Linked DNA regions of Homo sapiens: all the other regions are linked to region 3. The links are contacts of gene promoters, found by promoter capture Hi-C in blood cells and fetal thymus (Javierre and others, 2016). All regions are on one chromosome and are shown on one strand. Each heading gives the region's core, a stretch centred on a gene start or on the middle of the fragment in contact. The rest is flanking DNA. Distances are from core to core; before and after follow the strand shown.

Region 1 (3,568 bases), core at 270-2,769, 100 kb before region 3:
GTTCATGGAAAGTACCTCATACAGTGCTTCTTGGTGCATACTAAGTGCTCAATAAAGCTTAGTTATTCTGATTATTATTCTACTACAAAATGGGTATACTATAATGTTGTGAGTGAGTGTGGATAAGGTACCTAGTGGGTGGCAGTCACAAAAGAGATAAACAATAAGTCGCTGTTTCTTCATACGTACTTCTTACTTTTGAAAAGATGAGAAAAGTCTGGGCCATGTCACAAACATTGCCAAAAATAAGACAATAAAAAGCACAGTTGTCAGAGTTAAACCACAACAGTACCAAACTCTACCATTTCTTTTCTTTTTCTCCCACTAGTGCTTCTCATTAAAGAGAGTGGAGCCTGGTCTTACAACACCTCCACGGAAGCTATGACTTATGATGAGGCCAGTGCTTATTGTCAGCAAAGGTACACACACCTGGTTGCAATTCAAAACAAAGAAGAGATTGAGTACCTAAACTCCATATTGAGCTATTCACCAAGTTATTACTGGATTGGAATCAGAAAAGTCAACAATGTGTGGGTCTGGGTAGGAACCCAGAAACCTCTGACAGAAGAAGCCAAGAACTGGGCTCCAGGTGAACCCAACAATAGGCAAAAAGATGAGGACTGCGTGGAGATCTACATCAAGAGAGAAAAAGATGTGGGCATGTGGAATGATGAGAGGTGCAGCAAGAAGAAGCTTGCCCTATGCTACACAGGTAGGGAGTTTGCGGCAGCAGTGGGAGGTAGTTTCAGTGTGTGGGCATCTTGGCAAATTTACAGCATGCAAAAACTGCTCTCTATTGTGGTCATTTTATGTTCCAAAAGATTCTGTTTAACTGCTAAAGTTTCTCTCTTTTGCTGTTTTGTGTGAATGTGGGCAAGAATATGTGGATATGTATATATATACACACACACACATATATACACACACACATATATGTGTGTGTGTATATATATATAGCCTACAGCATTTATATACATTTTATATATATACATACACACATATACACACATATATGTGTGTATGTATATATATAAAATATATATAAATACTGTAGGCAAATATGTAGTTCTTTACATATAAAAATGCACACACACAATACATATTTTAATTACTTGTTTATTTGTGGTAGGGGAACTGTCTTCAGAGTTTGTGAAGAAGTAAATTTTCTACGGTAGGTGCCAGCCACAGCTATACATTAGCATCAAGGTTTAGGATAGGTGGGCCTGAAACTCAGATTTGGAACTTTGTAAAACACTTCAGTTAAAGTCTATGGCACTCTGTAGGACTGCTGATGTCTCTGTTGCACACTGTTGATTCTAAAATCAAAGGCACTCAGTATAAGCACAGTAATAGTCCTCCTCATCATGCTTTGTATTTTCCGTAGCTGCCTGTACCAATACATCCTGCAGTGGCCACGGTGAATGTGTAGAGACCATCAATAATTACACTTGCAAGTGTGACCCTGGCTTCAGTGGACTCAAGTGTGAGCAAAGTAAGTCTGGTTCTTGCCTCTTTCTTCACTTGAGATGGTAGCACCATCTCACGTCCTAGCTGGCATTAGAGTCAGGTCTGCATGCCTTCCCTTCCCTGGTGCAGATGGTGTCATATGGTGATCGTGAGCTGAGACTATGAAGTCAGACCCTGCTGGGTTTGAGTCCTAGATTCACCAGTTATTTATTTTGGCACCTTGACAAGATAGTTTAACTCTCTATGTCAGTTTTCTCATTGTAAAATGAGGATAATAATAGTGTGAACTTCATAGGCTCATGGTTACATGGTGCCTGGCACACAGGACACATTCAATAAACTGTAATTCTGTGTCCCTGCGAGGAACATGTACTCACCTCATCTAGGTGGTAACAAGACGTTGCAGTAGAAATGAGTGAGTTACAGAGTCCAGGGTATCTTGGTTCATGCTCTGGCCTCTGGCTCTGTAATGACTAGCCGTGTAGCATGGAGCAAGTCACTTGAATGAAATGAGGTCTCAGTTCCTAAATTTGTACATTAAGAGAGTTAGATGAGCTTCTCTCCAAGATTCCTTAGCACAGCGTTGTGCAGTAGAGCTTTTGTGATAATGGAAATGTTCCATAGCTGTGTTTTCCAGTGTGTACCTATGAGCCACATGTGGTTATTGAGTACTTGAAATGTGGCTGGTGACACTGAGGAACTGAATTTTAAATGTTATTTGATTTCAACGAATTCAAGTTTAAATTTGAGTAGCCACACAGATAGTGGCTACTATAGTAGACAGTGCAGCATTAGGGTTTTAAAATTTGTAATGTATTCTAGTACTTAAATTTGAAATATAGCTTTGTGAATGGTTCTCATCCTGGTTGGAAGCTTACTGTAGTATTTTTAGCAGTTGTGAGAAAAGTAACAAGAAATTTGTTGTGGTACCTAAGTTTGCTGTGTTTGTTCATATAATTTGAACAGTTTTGAGGTAAACACAATTACACTACTCTCCCCATATCACTCAATATTTCTTTTTTATGGTTGTCATCACTGCTTTTTTGTTGTTGTTGTTATGGATCAGCATTTTCTTGAATAAAAGAAAAGGGGTAGAATTACAGTCAATTTTACAAATTCCATTAGAAATTTTATAAATTTTTAAACTAAAAAAAAAAAAAACCAAACTGTAGTTCTAGTTTCCAGTGTTCTTATCTGTTAAAGGTGAGAGATGAGCAGAACTGATTTGGGTTTCTTTTTCAGTTGTGAACTGTACAGCCCTGGAATCCCCTGAGCATGGAAGCCTGGTTTGCAGTCACCCACTGGGAAACTTCAGCTACAATTCTTCCTGCTCTATCAGCTGTGATAGGGGTTACCTGCCAAGCAGCATGGAGACCATGCAGTGTATGTCCTCTGGAGAATGGAGTGCTCCTATTCCAGCCTGCAATGGTAAATCCCTCTGAGAATGCACAGAACGTTCTGTAACTCATCCCTCATTGCTTCTGTTTTTTGATTCAACTTACATTTTCAAAACTTCAGGGAAAGTTTTTTTTTTGTTTTTGTTTTTAATACAATTTGTTCTCTCAGCCAATGTATATTGCCAACCCAGTACCTGCTTGGGTTGAGAGAGGTTTTTTTATTCTATGCTTGAAATGGGTGTTTCTGAGGCTCTGGTGATTTGTAAGGGAGACCATAAAACAATAAAGCTCTAGAAATCTCAATGGATTTCTCATCTTGTTTCCCTGTTTAACTTTTCCAAGCCATGGGACTAACTTAAGACCATGATAGTCAAGCAGTCTTAGTATCTCTTTTTCTCTCTTAATTTTATCTTTCTGAACCAGAGGCCAAAAAAAGAAAAATCAGTTCTTCAGGCTCTGATGGGCTAAAATAAATGAATAGCCTACGTATGTCAGTACTAGTCATAACTCCTAATCTGGAATCTATTTTTTTTAAATTTTTACCTCACGTAAATGATAACATAGATTAGAGACCACTCAGCATAGGCAAAGTGGAAATCAGAAAAGATAGAATATCCATGAAAAAGAATAAAAGCTTTTATTCTGGCTGTGCATGTCCCTAAGAATTGACATAGGACTTTGGGATCTACCCTTTGAAGGCAGCT
Region 2 (3,909 bases), core at 481-2,980, 81 kb before region 3:
TACGTAATGGATTCTGTTTATTGATTTGTGTATGTTGAACCAGCCTTGCATTCCAGGGATGAAGCCAACTTGATTGTGGTTGATAAGCTTTTTGATGTGCTGCTGGATTCAGTTTGCCGTATTTTATTGAGTATTTTCGCAATGATGTTCATCAGGGATATTGGCCTGAAATTTTCTTTTTTTGTTGTGTCTCTGCCAGGTTTTAGTATCAGGATGATGCTGGCCTCATAAAATGAGTGAGGGAGGAGTTCCTCTTTTTCTATTCTCTGGAATAGTTTCAGAAGGAATGGTACCAGCACCTCTTTGTACCTCTGGTAGAATTTGGCTGTGAATCCATCTGGTCCTGGGCTTTTTTTAGTTGGTAGGCTATTAATTGCTGCCTTAATTTCAGAACTTGTTATTAGTCTATTCAGGGATTTGACTTCTTCCTGGTTTAGTCTTGGGAGGGTGTATGTGTCCAGGAATTTATCCATTTCTTCTAGATTTTCTAGTTTATTTGTGTAAAGATGTTTATAGTAATCTCTGATGGTAGTTTGTATTTCTACGGGATCAGTGGTAATATCCCCTTTACCATTTTTTATTGTGTCTATTGATTCTTCTTTCTTATTAGTCTAGCTAGTGGTCCATCTATTTTGTTAATCTTTTCAAAATGCAGCTCCTGGATTTATTGATTTTTTGAAGGCTTTTTCGTGTCTCTACCTCCTATGGTTCTGCTCTGATCTTAGTTATTTCTTGTCTTTCGCTAGTTTTTGAATTTGTTTCTTAACCTCTTTGAGACTCTTTAGAATGGGGATAATAATCATATCTATAGCAGAGAGCTGTTATAAAGATTAAACAATATAATAAATATGGGGCGCTGAGCTTCAGAGTTTTTGTTGTTGTTATTATTATTTTCCTAAAAATGCAAATCTGATTTGCATTTGACTCATTGACTCACATCAGTGGGTCTTCCTTTTTATTGTCCTTCATCATATGGGTCCTAATTTCACATGCAGTCTTATAAAACCATCTCATTTTATAGTCCAAGAATATTAAAGGTACTTGTAGGCTCCCAAACCTACACGGTGAAAAGCTAGAGAGCATGGGCTCTCTTCAGGGGTTAACTTCAGGAAGTGCCACTAACAAGGACGTCCACTAGGTGGTGAGCAAGGAAAGACGGAGGTGAAGGAACCGAAACGAGTCAAGTCCACTGCTTAGCTCTACTGAAGTTTTGCAAACATCATAAATATGTCTGAAATGCAGTTTTGATTTGTAGTATTTGCAATTTCCAAGGGCCATTTACCACAGGTAGCCAAGAGTTAGTTTAGCATTTATGAAAAAGATAGGGGAGGGTGGTGGAAAAGAAGGAGGAGGAGGAGAGAGAGAAGGAGGAAGAGGAGAACAAGAACCAAACAAAAACAAGAACAAGAACAAGTAGAAGAAGAGGAGCAGGAGGAAAAAGAAGAGGAAGAAGAACAGCAACAACAATGAGTGAAGGAGGAGGAGGGTAAGGAAAGATGCATAGGAGAATGGAAGGAAGGATAGAAAGGAGGGAAGGAAGAGAGAATCTAGTCACATTACTTTCTGATCAGCAGTTCATTTTTGTCTCAGTGGGAGGCAATAGAGGCCAGTCTAGGAAAGGGGTGGGGAAAGAGGAAAGAGAAGTGCAGGAGGAAGGGGAGGGAAAAGGGGAGGAGGAGGAGGATGTGAGACTGGGTTAGAGAAATGAAAGAAAGCAAGGCTTTCTGTTGACATTCAGTGCAGTCTACCTGCAGCACAGCACACTCCCTTTGGGCAAGGACCTGAGACCCTTGTGCTAAGTCAAGAGGCTCAATGGGCTGCAGAAGAACTAGAGAAGGACCAAGCAAAGCCATGGTGAGCCTTTCAGCCTAAAAGACGTTTAGATGCTCAGATAGAAACTCTTGGGGTTGTAGAGGCAGGTGGCAAGGATAGGAATCACCCCATTTCAATTCTGGTTTTAAATAATATAGAAACTAAACATTTTCTCAGACCCTCAAAAAAAGTGATCCTGAAATCTTTCTTCTCAGATATGCTGATTTCCTCTTCTTGACTTTGTCTCTGGGGAGACTCTTGAAGAAATACTATTGAAATCAGATCTTTTGCAATAAACACTGTGTCTACCTGAGAAGTGATATGCTTTGGAAGATAGAATTTTTTTAAAATTATACTTTAAGTTCTAGGGTACATGTGCACAACATACAGGTTTGTCACACATGTATACATGTGCCATGTTGGTGTGCTGCACCCATTAACTCGTCATTTACATTAAGTATATTTTAAGGTGTGCAGGAAATTTGTGACTTTGTCATTTCAGTTGCTCAAAAAGGTATTTCTTTTTATTAAAAAAAGAAATACTTTTCTTTCCTGGTGTCTGGCTATCTAATTTTTTTTTTTTTTAGGTATTTGAGGCATTGACCCATTATGATCAAGAGTGAGGCTATAACATTAAATATAAGCATCAATAGTTAATTAAGCAGCAACAATACTTTAAAAAATATACATAGTAAATATTAAATAGTTTTATCTAATAGCTCAGCAGAAAAGCAGGTATAAAAATTACCAAACCATAGAAAAAATTCAGGGCAGTACCGATTAGCAACTTGAGACTAAAGCGTAAAAATAAAATAGAACAAAACAAAACTGTGCATCAGTTCTGATGTAAATTTGAAGTAATTTTTCATCTATGTCTGAGAAACCTGTTACCTCAGACAGGGTTAGTAGACATATGTGTTTTATTCTGATTATTAAGAAAGTTGTAAGCACCACCTCAAAGGCTATAAATGTGTGGTTTAAGAGTATACATCTAAATATAATTTTGTATTTCATTTGCAGATATTTCCATGGAAATGTCAGAGCACCCAGAGGGACTTATGGAACATCTTCAAGTTGTGGGGGTGGACAATGCTCTGTTGTGGTATGTTATGATATTTATATATCGCTAAGTCTATTTTACTTATATTCATTTTTCTTAAATATCCACTAGTTATACATAGTCTAAGGGAAAATTATTTCACAGAGCTGTTAATTCTATCCCTTCTGTAAACATCTCTTTTCTTCTTACCTTTAGTTCTTCCCCAGAAACTCCTGAACACTATTTTTAACCTATAATAGCCCATGCTGTAGAGTTCAAATCCCAATAACCCCACAAAATCCCTCAATTATAAAGGAATAATGTTAATTAAGAAATCTCTGTTAAGGTACTTACAATCTGTACCAAATATTTAGCACCTCATTTTCTATTTTTTATTCATAGTTCAGTGTACATTAATGTCATTTCTACAATTACAATACGAGCTTATTAAGGGACGGGGGTTTATCATTTTTTGGTCCTTCTCCCATTGTTGTGACAAATTTTATATCTGATTCTTGAAGACTCTCCAGCAATAGCTTTGAACTTGGTTTTTCATTTCCTAAGTAAACTAATGTCTTCTTTCTCCCTAGCCTGGATTTTCAGCTCTAGCCAAGCAAACATGCTAACTCTCCCGTTCACACATTCCTTATGCCATGTCTGCACTGTGTCACATAGAAACTTAGTGCTCTTTTCATACAACAGGTATTTTCTGAGTCCCTACAATGTGTGAAATTTATGCTAGGCACTAAGGATACAGCAGTGGACACAACAGTTTTTTCCCTCTTAGAACTTGCATTCTAGTGGAATGCTCATTCAAAACTCTGTTCAAAATGTTTATTTTATGATGCTCTTTACCATCAATTATATCTGTTTCTTTACTGTATTAAATAGTGATTCATGTAGATCATACCATGCTTAGAATGCCATATATTATTATGAAGTCATTGTGTAATTATGTGTTTAATTAGATATCTTCAAAGCCCTCATATTTGATGGGTCCATATGTTTATTAAACATCATCAGTTGAGTCTCTTTGTGTATAGAACATGATCTAATGA
Region 3 (3,929 bases), core at 438-2,937:
CTTATTAAAAAAAAAAAGGTTTAATGGACTCACAGTTCCACGTGGATGGGGAGTCCTCACAATCATGGTAGAAAGCAAAAGACACGTCTTACATGGCAGCAGGGAAGAGAGAGAAATGAGAACCAAACAAAAGGGGTTTCCCCTTATAAAACCATCAGCTCTCATGCGACTTATTCACTACCATGAGAACAGTATGGGGGAAACCACCCCCATGATTCAATGATCTACCAGGTGCCTCCCACAACCTGTGGGAATTATGGGAGCTACAATTCCAGATGAGATTTGGGTGGGGACACAGCCAAACCACATCACTGAGGAAACTGAGTTATAGGGAGATTAGTAACGCCCAACACAGCTGGTAGGTGGTGGAGCCAGGCAGTCTGACTCTAGGGTCTGGACTCTGAACTGCATCATGCTGCCAAGAAGTTCCTCATTTTTTCCTCTCTCTAAGTTTCCCTTATTCCCCTACAGTCATTCCTTCAACAGCATTTCCTTCACCATCTTTTCTACTTCTACTATATAATTAATTTTTTCTTCTTGGTCCCAAATTCCAACGTGCAAATGCAGCCTTATATACCCTAATTCATCTTTACCTTTAGACTTTCTTCCAATGTTTCTACTTCATTCCATTTTAAATTTATCCATGAGATGCCTATTTACAAGCTGTAACCATCATGAAGTGAATGAAGAATAATACCTACTACTGTACAATAGAATTCCAAGAGTATAAATAGGAGTTATGGCTTTCTGACTTGAAACTAAATACTTGATACTTGATTTTGCTGTCTGAGATCAATCTGAAAAGTAATAATAATCACTAACATTTGTTGAGCATCAATTGTGGGCCAAGTGTCATTTCAATCACTCTGTACATATTAACTCATTTCATCCTACAACAACCCGGTGAGGCAAGTTCTGTTATTCTGTTTTACAGTTGAGGAAACAGAGGCATAGAGAGCTTAAGTAGTTTGCCCAGTAGATAGCCAGAAGAGGAGCCAGGATGGGTCTCGGGCAGTTTAACAGCACAGCTGAAGTCTTAACCACTATGCCAACAGCTTTTTGGTCCTACACATCCCATGGGAAGAGGAAAATAAAAAGGTATCTATTTGTATACCTTTTTATTTCTGATATAAGAAGCAGAATTCCTTTCACATGACCTATGTCTATTTAATACGTCATTTTGAAACTTACCAATAAAATTTCCCAAGCGCCAGAAAACTGTTAGTGGCTTTTTCCATTTCTCTCTATTTTTTTTTGTGCTACTAATTTTGCTTCTTTCCCTCAGAAGGCTGCCGGAATAGTAAACATTCACTGACATGTCATAATTACTGGAAAATGGGCACTGGAAAATCACATTGTAATTAATTCAAAGCATGTTTTCCAAATGTACTACTTTAAATTGGAGCTTATATCATAATCCAAGGAAACCTTTGTGTGTGTACTGTTCCCACATTGCTCAGCCTGGGATATCCAGGAGTAATTCACCTTGCGCCTGCCTCCAGACCATCTTCCATGGAAGGGGGTGACCCCTTGCCTCTTGGCAACCACTATTTCTAAGCTGCCAACATTACTCTTGCATTATCAACATTCTAACTTCATGGGAAGGGCTGTGGTGAGTTTCTGGAATGTGAATAGGAAGTTGTTTTTCTAAACAGCCTGACACTGAGGGGAGGCAGTGAGACTGTAAGCAGTCTGGGTTGGGCAGAAGGCAGAAAACCAGCAGAGTCACAGAGGAGATGGTGAGTTTATTTTTTTCTGCATGGGAAGTGGTTGAAGTGAGTTGGAGTGGTATGGAGTAAAGTCAGGCAGGTAAAGGTTCAGAAAGTGAGGAACAGCGATAGCCATGGAGTTTTATGTTGAATTGCCTATTAGATTTTGTGAGTACTTTTAAACTTGCTGTCCACTTTGACCCTCCCAACACCCTTGTGAGTTGAGGTTGCTATTTCTATTTTACAAATAAAGCCATCGTGGTTTACAGAGGCTGTGTTTTATCTAAGCTTCACTGTTAGGCTACATGATGTTGGGATCTGGGGCCTGTCCTCTGGCTCCGCAGCTGCTGTTCCTCCTACTAGAATTTATAGGGGCTCTCTGAGAATAGATCATGGTAAACCTGTCACCCCATTTTCCAAGACTGTACTTCTCTCTGGGATAAATGATGGAATAAATGGAAGACTGGGTAGGTGCCCTGGGACAAGCTTACAATTGAATAGTTTCTCATCCCCATCCCTCCCATTTCTTTCTGTGAGCCTATGAATCTTCTGGGACTGATCTGGAATATCCACATAGTTTCCTTTTCTGCCCTAAGACTCAATCTTGTTAATGACTCAGTTTCTTCTTCTATAAAATGGATATAGTAATAATACTCTATAGTTTCATCATGAGGATTAAATAAGATTTTGCTGAAAAGCATCCAGATCTGAGCCTGACACATAGTAAGTGATTAGTAAATGTTAGCCATTATTGTTACAATAAAAAGAAAATTCTTAGGAATAGTGGGGTTTAGGATTCAGGGAAGATCCAAGGATAGCTAGGCATTTTGAACTCAGCAATGTTATATGCTCATGGATAAGATGCACGTGGTTAGGCTACTTCTAATTCAGGGAAGATCCAAGGATAGCTAGGCATTTTGAACTCAGCAATGTTATATGCACCTAGATAAAATGCACATGGTTAAGCTACTTCCAATTTTCCTCAGACTTTCCAAGAGTATCCCACATAGTCCCAGGGTCCGAAATCCTGCAGTCTGTGGCTATGGAGGAACCAGGCAGGTCTCTGTTTTTGAGCACCTTTCTGTGGGACTCCAGAAAAAAGTACCGCATACACCTGATTCATCCTACTGCTTTGCTTTACTATAGCACACTTTTCAAGTACTTATAATGTGGGTTTCTGTGTTGGGGAAAACAGGAATAAGAGTATGATAAAGAGAAGAGGAAGGAGTTTGAGCCTGTCTTAAGTTTGAACCACAATGACCTAAGGATATGAATTACTTTTGTCCTGTCTTTTTGCATGTCATACTTCTGAATTGGTTAACTTAAATGAGCAGTTATTCCTCTCTTCCTTCTACTCTCCTTGGCATCCTCCTCTATTTCAAAGGTATGAACTTATTGGATCAGAGAGTTCTTTGAGATTTTGATGAAAGTTACAACTTGTCTTTCCCAGATGAAAGCAAAAACATCGACATAAACACCAACCTTTAGAGACAACCACAGGAGGTTCCCAGACCTCCATGTGGATCCCAGGGTAAGAACCCTTCTCGATTGCCTCCTGGGCTTTATGTTCAGAAGCCCCTCTCTTGGTACCCTGAAATTAGGCTTGAGCTCTACAGCGAAGTGCTAAGGCCCCAGCCCTGGAATGGTTTTTAATATTTCAAAGACAAGACCTCTTCCTTTTCCTCTGAGCACATTTGGCCCCAAAGATTCAGAAACCTCAAACTGCCTGTGTAAATTTTGCTTCAAGTTCAGAGAGTGGCTTTAATTAACTTTTAGGACCTGAGAAAATGAGGATAAGGTTTTTCTGGTGGGGTATTTTCAATCAGATAGATCTCAGAGGAGTAGCTCTTGATTGGGAACTTATAGTTAAATTGCACTGATGTTTGTCAAAGTTTTAGCGGGCTATGGCCGGGCTCAGTGGCTCATGCCTGTAATCCCAGCACTTTGGGAGGCCGAGGCGCATAGATCACTTGAAGTCGAGAGTTCAAGAGCAGCCTGGCCAACATGGTGAAACACCATATTTACTAAACTTACAAAAACTGGCTGGGCATGTTGGCATGTGCCTGTAATCCCAGCTACTCAGGAGGCTGAGGCAGGACAAACTCTTGAACCCAGGAGGTGGAGGTGGCAGTGAGTTGAGATCACACCACTGAACTCCAGCCTGGGTGACAGAGCAAGACTTGTCTCAAAAACAAAACAAAAAAAAAGTTTTAGTGGGCT

What was found. Contacts are between HindIII fragments. The CHiCAGO score rates a contact against its expected background, and 5 or more counts as called.
Region 1: a contact is called between a fragment that was not itself captured here and the fragment with the promoter of SELP in region 3, in 1 of 17 cell types (neutrophils). The highest score is 5.5, in neutrophils.
Region 2: the fragment with the promoter of SELL here is called in contact with the fragment with the promoter of SELP in region 3 in 12 of 17 cell types (neutrophils, non-activated CD4 T cells, total B cells and 9 more); the score reaches 10.2 in neutrophils.

Annotation. Positions count from the first base shown.
Region 1 is chr1:169,729,759-169,733,326 of GRCh38, reverse strand. It overlaps SELE (selectin E), which reads left to right. Exons shown (of 14, transcript NM_000450.2): 3 at 329-712; 4 at 1,385-1,492; 5 at 2,710-2,895. Among named protein-coding and RNA genes, the nearest start is that of SELE, 2.5 kb to the left of the region's middle. The HindIII fragment of the contact is 1,647 bases long and covers 696-2,342 here.
Region 2 is chr1:169,709,441-169,713,349 of GRCh38, reverse strand. SELL (selectin L) reads left to right here and starts at 1,730. Exons shown (of 9, transcript NM_000655.5): 1 at 1,730-1,854; 2 at 2,833-2,914. The coding sequence starts at 1,852. The HindIII fragment of the contact is 5,813 bases long and covers 90-3,909 here.
Region 3 is chr1:169,627,882-169,631,810 of GRCh38, reverse strand. SELP (selectin P) reads left to right here and starts at 1,687. Exons shown (of 17, transcript NM_003005.4): 1 at 1,687-1,739. The coding sequence starts at 1,737. The HindIII fragment of the contact is 5,122 bases long and covers 1-1,999 here.